Linked DNA regions of Homo sapiens: region 2 is linked to region 1. Evidence: promoter capture Hi-C in human tissues and cell types (Jung and others, 2019). All regions are on one chromosome and are shown on one strand. Each heading gives the region's core, a stretch centred on a gene start or on the middle of the fragment in contact. The rest is flanking DNA. Distances are from core to core; before and after follow the strand shown.

Region 1 (4,214 bases), core at 1,035-3,534:
AAGCACTAGTCTCCCTTAACTTGTAGTTAATTCTTCCAAGTTCTGTTTTTTTCCTTTCTGTGTGCTGCCTCTTCCTCCCACACCAATCCCATGTTGGCCATTTTGCCCTATGGTGACAGAGAAAGAACTCTGTAATCATTACCCTAAAATATATTAGCAATTGAATTTTAAATCTTTGAAGACTCATTGTTGTTAAATTTTAAAAATGAATACATTTTACCTTTGGCTAGGGTTCCCAGACTCTCCTTTTGAGGTCTCTCCATTCTTCATCTATTTATTGTTTTCAAAGTTGCCTACCACTTGTGTTGAGATTCCACCCTTTCCTCCTGTTAAAATAGATAATTTGTTAAAGGGTTACAGGATAGTATAAAAGCACATGAAGTTTGAGGCCAGCATATCTGAATTTATTTCTCCATTCTGTCATTGAACAAGTTTTCTGACTTTTTGCAATTTTTTTTGAGTATCACCTCTCTCTAATCTCTAAATTAGGAAAAATCACCTCATTAATTAGTTGAGAGGATTAAATAAGATATTATTAAGCCCCAGGTACTTAGTGGGAAGCTTAAAACAATAGTTGCTTTCTCCTACTTCTCTTCATTGGCATTGAGACATAAATTAGTATCAGTCATTATGGAGGGCATCGCTCTACAAATATTTTGTGACCTATGCATATGTATTGGAATTAGGTATCAGACACTAGTGAAAAAGCGTGGGAGAGAAATAATTTTCGTACTTCTTGGTACTACCGTAAACGATTTCTGCCAGCATATGGATAACTTTGTTTCCCACAGATAATCCTAATCCTGATCATGGTGGACACAGCTCTCCTTATTTTCCTAAAATTTTCTCAGTTGTTATTGATAATGTTGGTACTGTATTTCAGTTTCTTTATATATCAACATTAAATATTTGCCTGTCACCAAAATGTGAAGTAAAAAGCAAAAAAAGTCCTATAAAAGGTTTATTTTGACTGTTTTTATTTTTTCACGTGGCGCATCTATCAAAGAGCATTTATTTACTCATGGCAGGGGAGGCGTATCAGGGAATCAAATCTAATTTAATTTCTTAACTTTTAATTTTTCAAAGTTGGGATTGGAAGAGAGGCTGAGAAAAAACTCTCTTGGCTGTTTTAAAAGCTAAGGATTAGTAGCAATGTTCTGACCTGAAATTTAGGTCTTGTGATTTCTTTCCAAGAGATTTTTCACTGCATGAAAAACCTGTTTGCAATGGCCTTTTTAATTTAATTCAATCTTAATTGGATACGAACCGTAAAAATCTAAGGGATTGTTAAAAGGCCTAAAAGTGCACAAAAGTAGTTTTTAAGAGTAATATTAATAATCTGGAAGTGAAAAATTAACTTTGCTAAATTACTGAACCTTTCTACCTAGCTTCTAGGTTCATTTTGTATTTCTTTCAAATTTTGAACGTTTCAAGGACGGAAAATTTCATCCTTAGAGCATACGCACTGTTTAGGGGACGGTTCAGCCATTTTCAAAAGGAGGCTAAGCTTTGTGTTCAGAGGTGTATATTTTAGGAATTCTCCACGTGGCTTAATTACGAGCATGCCTTGATTGTTAGCAGAGGTAAGTCAGGCTTCATCTTGTAATGAGACCCCTTGGAAAAAAGTCTGCTGCTGAGGCACCAACACAGGGTGGGTGAGGGCCAGCTTTCTAAAACGGCCTTTCATAACCTGGCGAGAATCACTGAGCGCTATGAGGCCACCGCCTGACGGAGAAGCCAATGCCCAGAGGCTTTTTCTTTCGCAAGAGATGTAAATGGCCGGCTTGGGGGAATAGGTAGGGAAAAGGGTTCTTTGGGTCACCCATTTTTTCTAGTCCCATTACTGACTCTTGGAGAATATTCAGATGGTGCCAGGTAGCACCATGCCTATTATTATTCTCACTGAGACAAAAGTCAGCGGCTGGTAACTGGTGTCCATTCTTTCGCTTGAGTGGGTTGGAGAAAGACGGCATGGCTGGAGGAATTTGTTTTGTTTTGCTTTGGAGCGGGCTTCCTCAGTTGCATCCTGCATCGGGCGGGCACAGCCCCGGGCTCTGGGAAGACGCCGCTCGGCAGCCGCAGTGGCCGCTGCATCAATGGGTTTTGGGGCAGGGAGGTGCGGAGCCCAGCCTGCGCTCCTGGCTACCCCTCCGCGCCCCGCCGCCGCCCACAGCCTACCCTTCTCCTCTGCAGCCGGTAGGCGGCCGTAACACGGGCGGGCCGAGCACGTGGGCGCCTCCGTCACACCCTCACACATACACACACGCGCGCGCGCACACACACATACGCATGTACACGCGCACCCGCACCCGCGCGCCTGTATCCCGTGCTGTTTCCCTGGCAGACACACAGGCGCTCACGAGTCTCTCCTTGCCAGCCTGCAGGGCGGCGACCCCCAAAACCCAGCTCCGGGTCCCAACCTAGGCAAGAAGCTGCTTCTCTGCCAACAGCTCCTCTTCGGCCTCCGTCACAGCCACCTGGACCCTACCCTTTCGCGACTGCTGCTGCTGCTGCCCGGACGTGGAAGCAGCAAGAGGCGCTTGGTCAAGACACACTGACGGTAATGGCAAGCGCCTACGCTAAGGGCACAACTGGGGGTGAGGTGGGGCTCGCCATTAGCCACCCAGGAGCCTGGGCACCAGCACCGGGAACGAATTGATGGATGGATGCCGGGAAGGACTCGCTGCGTCCTGGGGTGGGAGGAGGGAGGGCAGCTCAAAAGCCCTGGGAGGGAGAAGCTGGGCTGGGCGGGCAACCGTCTAACTCTGCATCTCTGTACAATCAGGGTGGGGGGCGACAGGCTGCACATGTAAGGGGAAGCACATGGGTTGAAACGTGCCGCCATCCTTTCTTCCCGTCGTGGAAATTGCCCACAGCATCCCCAGAGACCTACTCGTTTCCAAGCCAAGTCGGGGTTGGTTGAAGGGTGGGGTCCAACACGGGAAAGTCCAAGAGGAAAGTTGGGAGGGTTGGGGCAGAGAGAGACGCGAGGTGAATTGGAAGCTAAACCTCGTGCAGGTGGGCGATGGGGCGGGGAGAGCAGAGAGCTTTATTCCTCATTCGCTTCCGTTCGCTTTAGCAAAGGCAGAAGGCGACTACCGAGGACAGAGTGTTTTCACGTGACCACAGTTCCCCTTTGCTTGAGGTATCCTGTGATAAATGGCCCGAAAGGGGGCCTTTCGCCGTACGAAAGGCACGTGGCTGCTGGAGAAATCACGGCTCCTGTGTTTCTGCGCATCCTGGAATTTGAGAGTGTGGCGGTGAGGGTGGTGCTGCTGGGACTGTAAGAAGATGGGAAGCAGTTAGAAACCCAGATCGTTTCTACCTTTCTTTCACTAGGCTGGTCTGTGTGTGACTGGGAAGAAGACGGTATTGAGTACAGGGAAATCCTTGCACTCTAACGTAGCGCACCAACTGGATACATAAGAATGAATCAAGACGCCCGAGGCGTTCGGGAACAGGCATGACCCACCCAGTGGCACAGGCTGCGGGAACGGGAATTATTTTTCCTGAGCTGAGAAGCAGCCTTTGATGTGCGTTTTAGGAAGCAAAGCCCCCAGGCTCGCGCTCTCCAGCGTCCCGCTTTCCCTTTCCATCCTCCTCCCTAGCTGGGAAAGGCTGGAGTAAGACGGGGCGGGGTCCGGACTCCGGCGCAGTGACGTAAGCAGTGTTTGGGTGCTTATGCAAATAAGTCTGCGACGGTTTCTTCTGGTCTTGCCGTTTTCCCCTCCAGATCTTATAGGTAGACCCAATCTTAGTCTGCACCATCCTTGCGGTTCACTACTTAAGACGTATGGGAGAAATGAAGGATTTGCTTTATATGCTGCTTTGGGGCTCCTCATCGCCCATGCTGTAAAAGCTATTTTCTACCTGTCAATGCCTGATTGCTTTTCTGCTGTGCCAGCAACAAAGTGTTTGTTTTGAGGAATTATTATGTGCAGACACAGCCCCAACAAGCCCCTCACCCACCCAACCTCATTTCTGCAAGATCATTGCTGAAACACAGACCTATTTATGTCTTAGGCGCCCAGTACTGGGCTTGACTTGTACGTTCTTAATAAATACTTAATGATGGACTAAATCTTCTTTGAACAGTGTTAGGTTTTGAAGGGAAGGCGAGGGTTAAAGACACACACACACACACACACACACACGGAAAGAGGGCGGCTCAACAGCAAATTCAGGCTTTCTGTCCAGCATAAATCCTACAGAAG
Region 2 (4,116 bases), core at 106-2,605, 46 kb after region 1:
GTTATGTGGATGATCAGATTGCTCAACTCCATTATAATTTGTTTCCAAACTAATCTGTTCAGGCAAGATAAAGATATAAATGTGGATTGTTGCTGAGGTTAAGTCTGGTCAGATTTTTCCACTTATGCTTGAAAAGTAACCATATTTCAATCAAATATATAATATGTATATTTCATAATAATATAAGCAATATTAGTCTCATTATTAATTCAAAAATCTCATCTATATTTCAACACTGTAGAACATTATTAAATGAATAAATGACCTATAAATATTTGGTGCCTGAAGAAGTCACTTTGCTATTAATTATACGAATAGAGTATGGAAATTTATACTTTTAAATTTTTCTCTAAACTTTGACTCATTTATTATTGTACTTGGTAAATGAGTTTCCACGGGCTCAGGGAGATGAATTACTGTCTTAGAATAAATTTGTATGAATGTTGAGGCTACACCCAGGTAACCTAATTCCTAATAGGTTATATGCCATGTATCAGGAAAGGTATTGCCTGTTTATATGATGGACATGTTATAAAAGTTTTAAAAGTTTGAATATAATAATTTATAATAAAGTTTAAAGGCCTTGTCTCTGAATAGAGTCTCATTTTTTCATTTATTTCTTTTGTCTAGTTATCTGTTGTCTTCTGGCATTTTGTATTGGCCTGATATTTGTGCAACGCTCTGGAAATTACTTTGTTACAATGTTTGATGATTATTCTGCTACACTGCCTCTGCTAATTGTAGTCATTTTGGAGAATATTGCTGTATGCTTTGTTTATGGCATAGATAAGTAAGTATATTTGCTTTTATGTATTCACTTTTAATCTCTAGTTTGAAAACATCAATTATCAATGTTCATTTCATTTAGAAGAGGAAATAAATGAATAGAGGGAACAATTCTTTAAAAAATCAAACCTTTTGCAGGCTCTCACTGATTCAACAGTTTTGGTAAATTACATTTCCCTGTTGGGCAAATAGAATTATATAGGATGTAATAGTATGTAGAATTTTAGATCTTTGATTTGGTCCTGGTTATCAAATAGCTAACTTTCAGGATTTAGTAAGTATTGGCAGAGTTCCAAGAACCTTAGTTTCTTTTGAGTTCTTTATTGTTATCTACATTTCACAGATAAGGAAAATCAAGCTTAGAGAGACACCCTGTGACTTGCCTGTCACCCACCTGGACAGCAGCAGACCTGGGACTCATGTCCATTTCTGTTTAACTCTAAAGCTTATCTCCTAATTATATTGCTAAATTGATTTATAAGAGGAGTGCATGTGTCATAATGCCTTATATAGCAGGACAATATTGGGAAATGATATTTTCCCAGGTCTGAGATGTATATGTCATTTGCTGCACAGAAACATTATTTTTATATAGAGTCATTACTTAAATTCACTATACGCATAAATAATGAATAAATTCACTATTTATTCATAAATTCATATCAAATACACATACTTTTCACACCATTCAGGTACACTGATGTGAAAAGTGTATGTATTTGAAATGATGTGAAGCACCAGAGTTCTCTCAAGGGAAAAAGACCTTTGGAGGATTTGTCCAATACTTTTTATAGTCACTGTCTCTAATCACATACATGGACTGAGAGGTAGTAAGATCACCAAGCTCATTACAGCCCTATGTAAAGTAGTAATGCATGCACCTTAAGTGAAGGCCAGAGTCCTTTTAAGCAGCATAAAGAATATTGTGGGTATTGAATGAGCTTTATAACAAAGCTTAGAGAATGTTTTTTGTGGTTGCCAAAAGCTCCAGGTCAGGAAGCTTAGGAGAACTTACATTTAATAATCATGTACTGTATAATAATAGTAGTAATAGCTCTTAGTGTATAATCCAGCAATCATGCTACTTGGTATTTACCCAAAGGAGTTGAAAACTTATGCCCACTTAAAATTCTGCACGTGGGTGTTTATAGCAACTATATTCATAATTGCCCAAACTTGGAGGCAAACAAGATATCCTTTAGTAGGTAAATGGATAAATTGTCATACATCCAGACAATGAAATATTATTCAATCCATGAAAAGACACAGAGGAAATTTTAATGCACATTACTTAGTGAAAAAAGTCACATATGAAAAGGTTACATATTGTAAGATTCCCCTATATTATAATATGGAAAAGGTAAAACTATGGAAACAGTAAAAACATCAGCAGTTAACAGGGGTTGGGCCAGATCCAGGGATGTATACGCTGAGCACAGAATGTTTAGGGCAGTGAAACTACTCTGTATGACACTGTAATGGTGGACACACGTCATTATACATTTGTCCAAATCCAGAGAATGTACTACACAAACAGTGAATTCCAGTGTAAACTGTGGGCTCTAGGTAATAATGATGTGTTAACTTATGTAGGTTCATCAATTGTAACCAACATTCCACTCTCGTGGGGGTTGCTGATAATGGAGGAGGTTATGCACATATATTGGTAGGAGCTATATGGGAAATCTCTCTACTTTCAGCTCAATTTTGCTGTGAACCTAAAATTGCTCTTAAAAAATAAAGTGTGTAATCAAAAAATACTCCTTGTTAACTAACATGATCCATATCTTACAGATGGGAAACTGCCCCTTCTTTTACAGGAGGATACAATATGTTAGCTGTAGAGCCAGTACTGTAACCTTGACCTTCATTTCAAGGCCAGGTTTCTCTAAGCTTTACTAGGCTACTCAAAACTCATAACCTGTACCATGATGGAATTTGATATTGTTTTTGGACTGATCTGTAAATAAATACATTTGTAATTTAGATTTCCATTTAGACAGTTCGTTATTCATGATAGACTTACTAAAGAATCTCTCTTTTTAATGCTAGTGTTCCTGAATAACACTATTTATAACAACAGAAGAAAAAATACTACTACTAATAGATGCATCTGTCGATTTTGTACCATATGTGAGGTAGTATGCTAAGCATCCATTGTTTATGGTTCTAGTAATAACCCTCAAAGGTGGGTATTATATTATATTTTTGGAAAACACCAAAAATGAAGCTTAGAGAGATTAAGATATACATCAAAAGAACACAGAACTGTGATCTGAAATGAGGTCTCTTGGTCTTCAAAGTTCATATTTTTTCTAAAGGGCAGGTGTAGAATTCTTACATTGAAGATGTCCTTTAAGATTCTGGAGCAACTTGGAAGAAATGAAAAAGGGAAGAGAAACATAGAGATTAAGACTGGGCCAGGTGTGGTGGCTCAAGCCTGTAATCCCAACACTTTGGGAGGTCAAGGTGGGCAGATCACTTGAGGTCAGGAGATCGAGAGCAGTCTGACCAACATGGTGAAACGCCATCTCTACTAAAAATACAAAAATCAGCCGGGCGTGATGGTGGTCGCCTGTAATCCCAGCTACTCGGGAGGCTGAGGCAGGAGAATTGCTTGAACCTGGGAAGATGAGGTTGCAGTGAGTCGAGATTGTGCCACTGTACTCCAGCCTGGGCAACAGGTGAGACTCTGTCTCAAAAAAAAAAAAAAAAAAGAAAGAAAGAATGGACTCAAGAGACATAACAATTCATAACAATTAGTTATTATATGTAGACCTTTTTAGAAATTCGGAATGTAAAAAGAAGAGTTCAGAAAATATAACATTGATTAGGTATATTTGATGATATTAAGGAATTATTATTATGCTTTTAATGCTGTGATATTAAGGAATTATTACTTTTACTAATTATTACTAAAGTAATAGTAAAATTATTAGGAAAAGTAGTAATTAGTAAAATTATTTACTAATAAGTAATTATTACTAAAAGTAATAATTCCTTGATAGAATAGTATTAATAGCATAGTAATAATTCCTTAATATATAATTACTTAATATTTCTTAATAATATTTAAGCAGTAATTACTAAAAGAAATAATTTCTAAATAATTCCTTTTTGTAATTATTACTTGTATTACTAAAAAAGAGACAAGAAATTTTTAATATACTGAAAATATTTTGTTTATAGAATAGAAAGTTATCAGTAGAAGGAGAAATCAGTAATTGGCTTAAGAGAGCTTTCCCTAAATAAAAATTATAGTACTTACCTGGCTTCATTTTACTTTATAGTCATCTTCCAAGAGGAACTTTGATACAGTATAAAATGTCA

The links. The method cuts DNA at HindIII sites, captures the fragments that hold promoters and counts their contacts. A contact is called where the count stands out against the background at its distance.
Region 2: a contact is called between a fragment that was not itself captured here and the fragment with the promoter of SLC6A15 in region 1, in 1 of the 25 tissues and cell types used here (bladder).

What each region holds. Positions count from the first base shown.
Region 1 is chr12:84,910,869-84,915,082 of GRCh38, reverse strand. SLC6A15 (solute carrier family 6 member 15) reads left to right here and starts at 2,284. Exons shown (of 12, transcript NM_182767.6): 1 at 2,284-2,560. LOC102724680 (a long non-coding RNA gene) reads right to left here and starts at 2,246. Exons shown (of 4, transcript XR_945154.3): 1 at 2,179-2,246; 2 at 221-326. RefSeq lists enhancers at 1,523-2,069, 2,070-2,617, 3,166-3,714. The HindIII fragment of the contact is 2,941 bases long and covers 196-3,136 here.
Region 2 is chr12:84,863,708-84,867,823 of GRCh38, reverse strand. It overlaps SLC6A15 (solute carrier family 6 member 15), which reads left to right. Exons shown (of 12, transcript NM_182767.6): 10 at 631-790. Among named protein-coding and RNA genes, the nearest start is that of SLC6A15, 47 kb to the left of the region's middle. The HindIII fragment of the contact is 4,739 bases long and covers 1-3,724 here.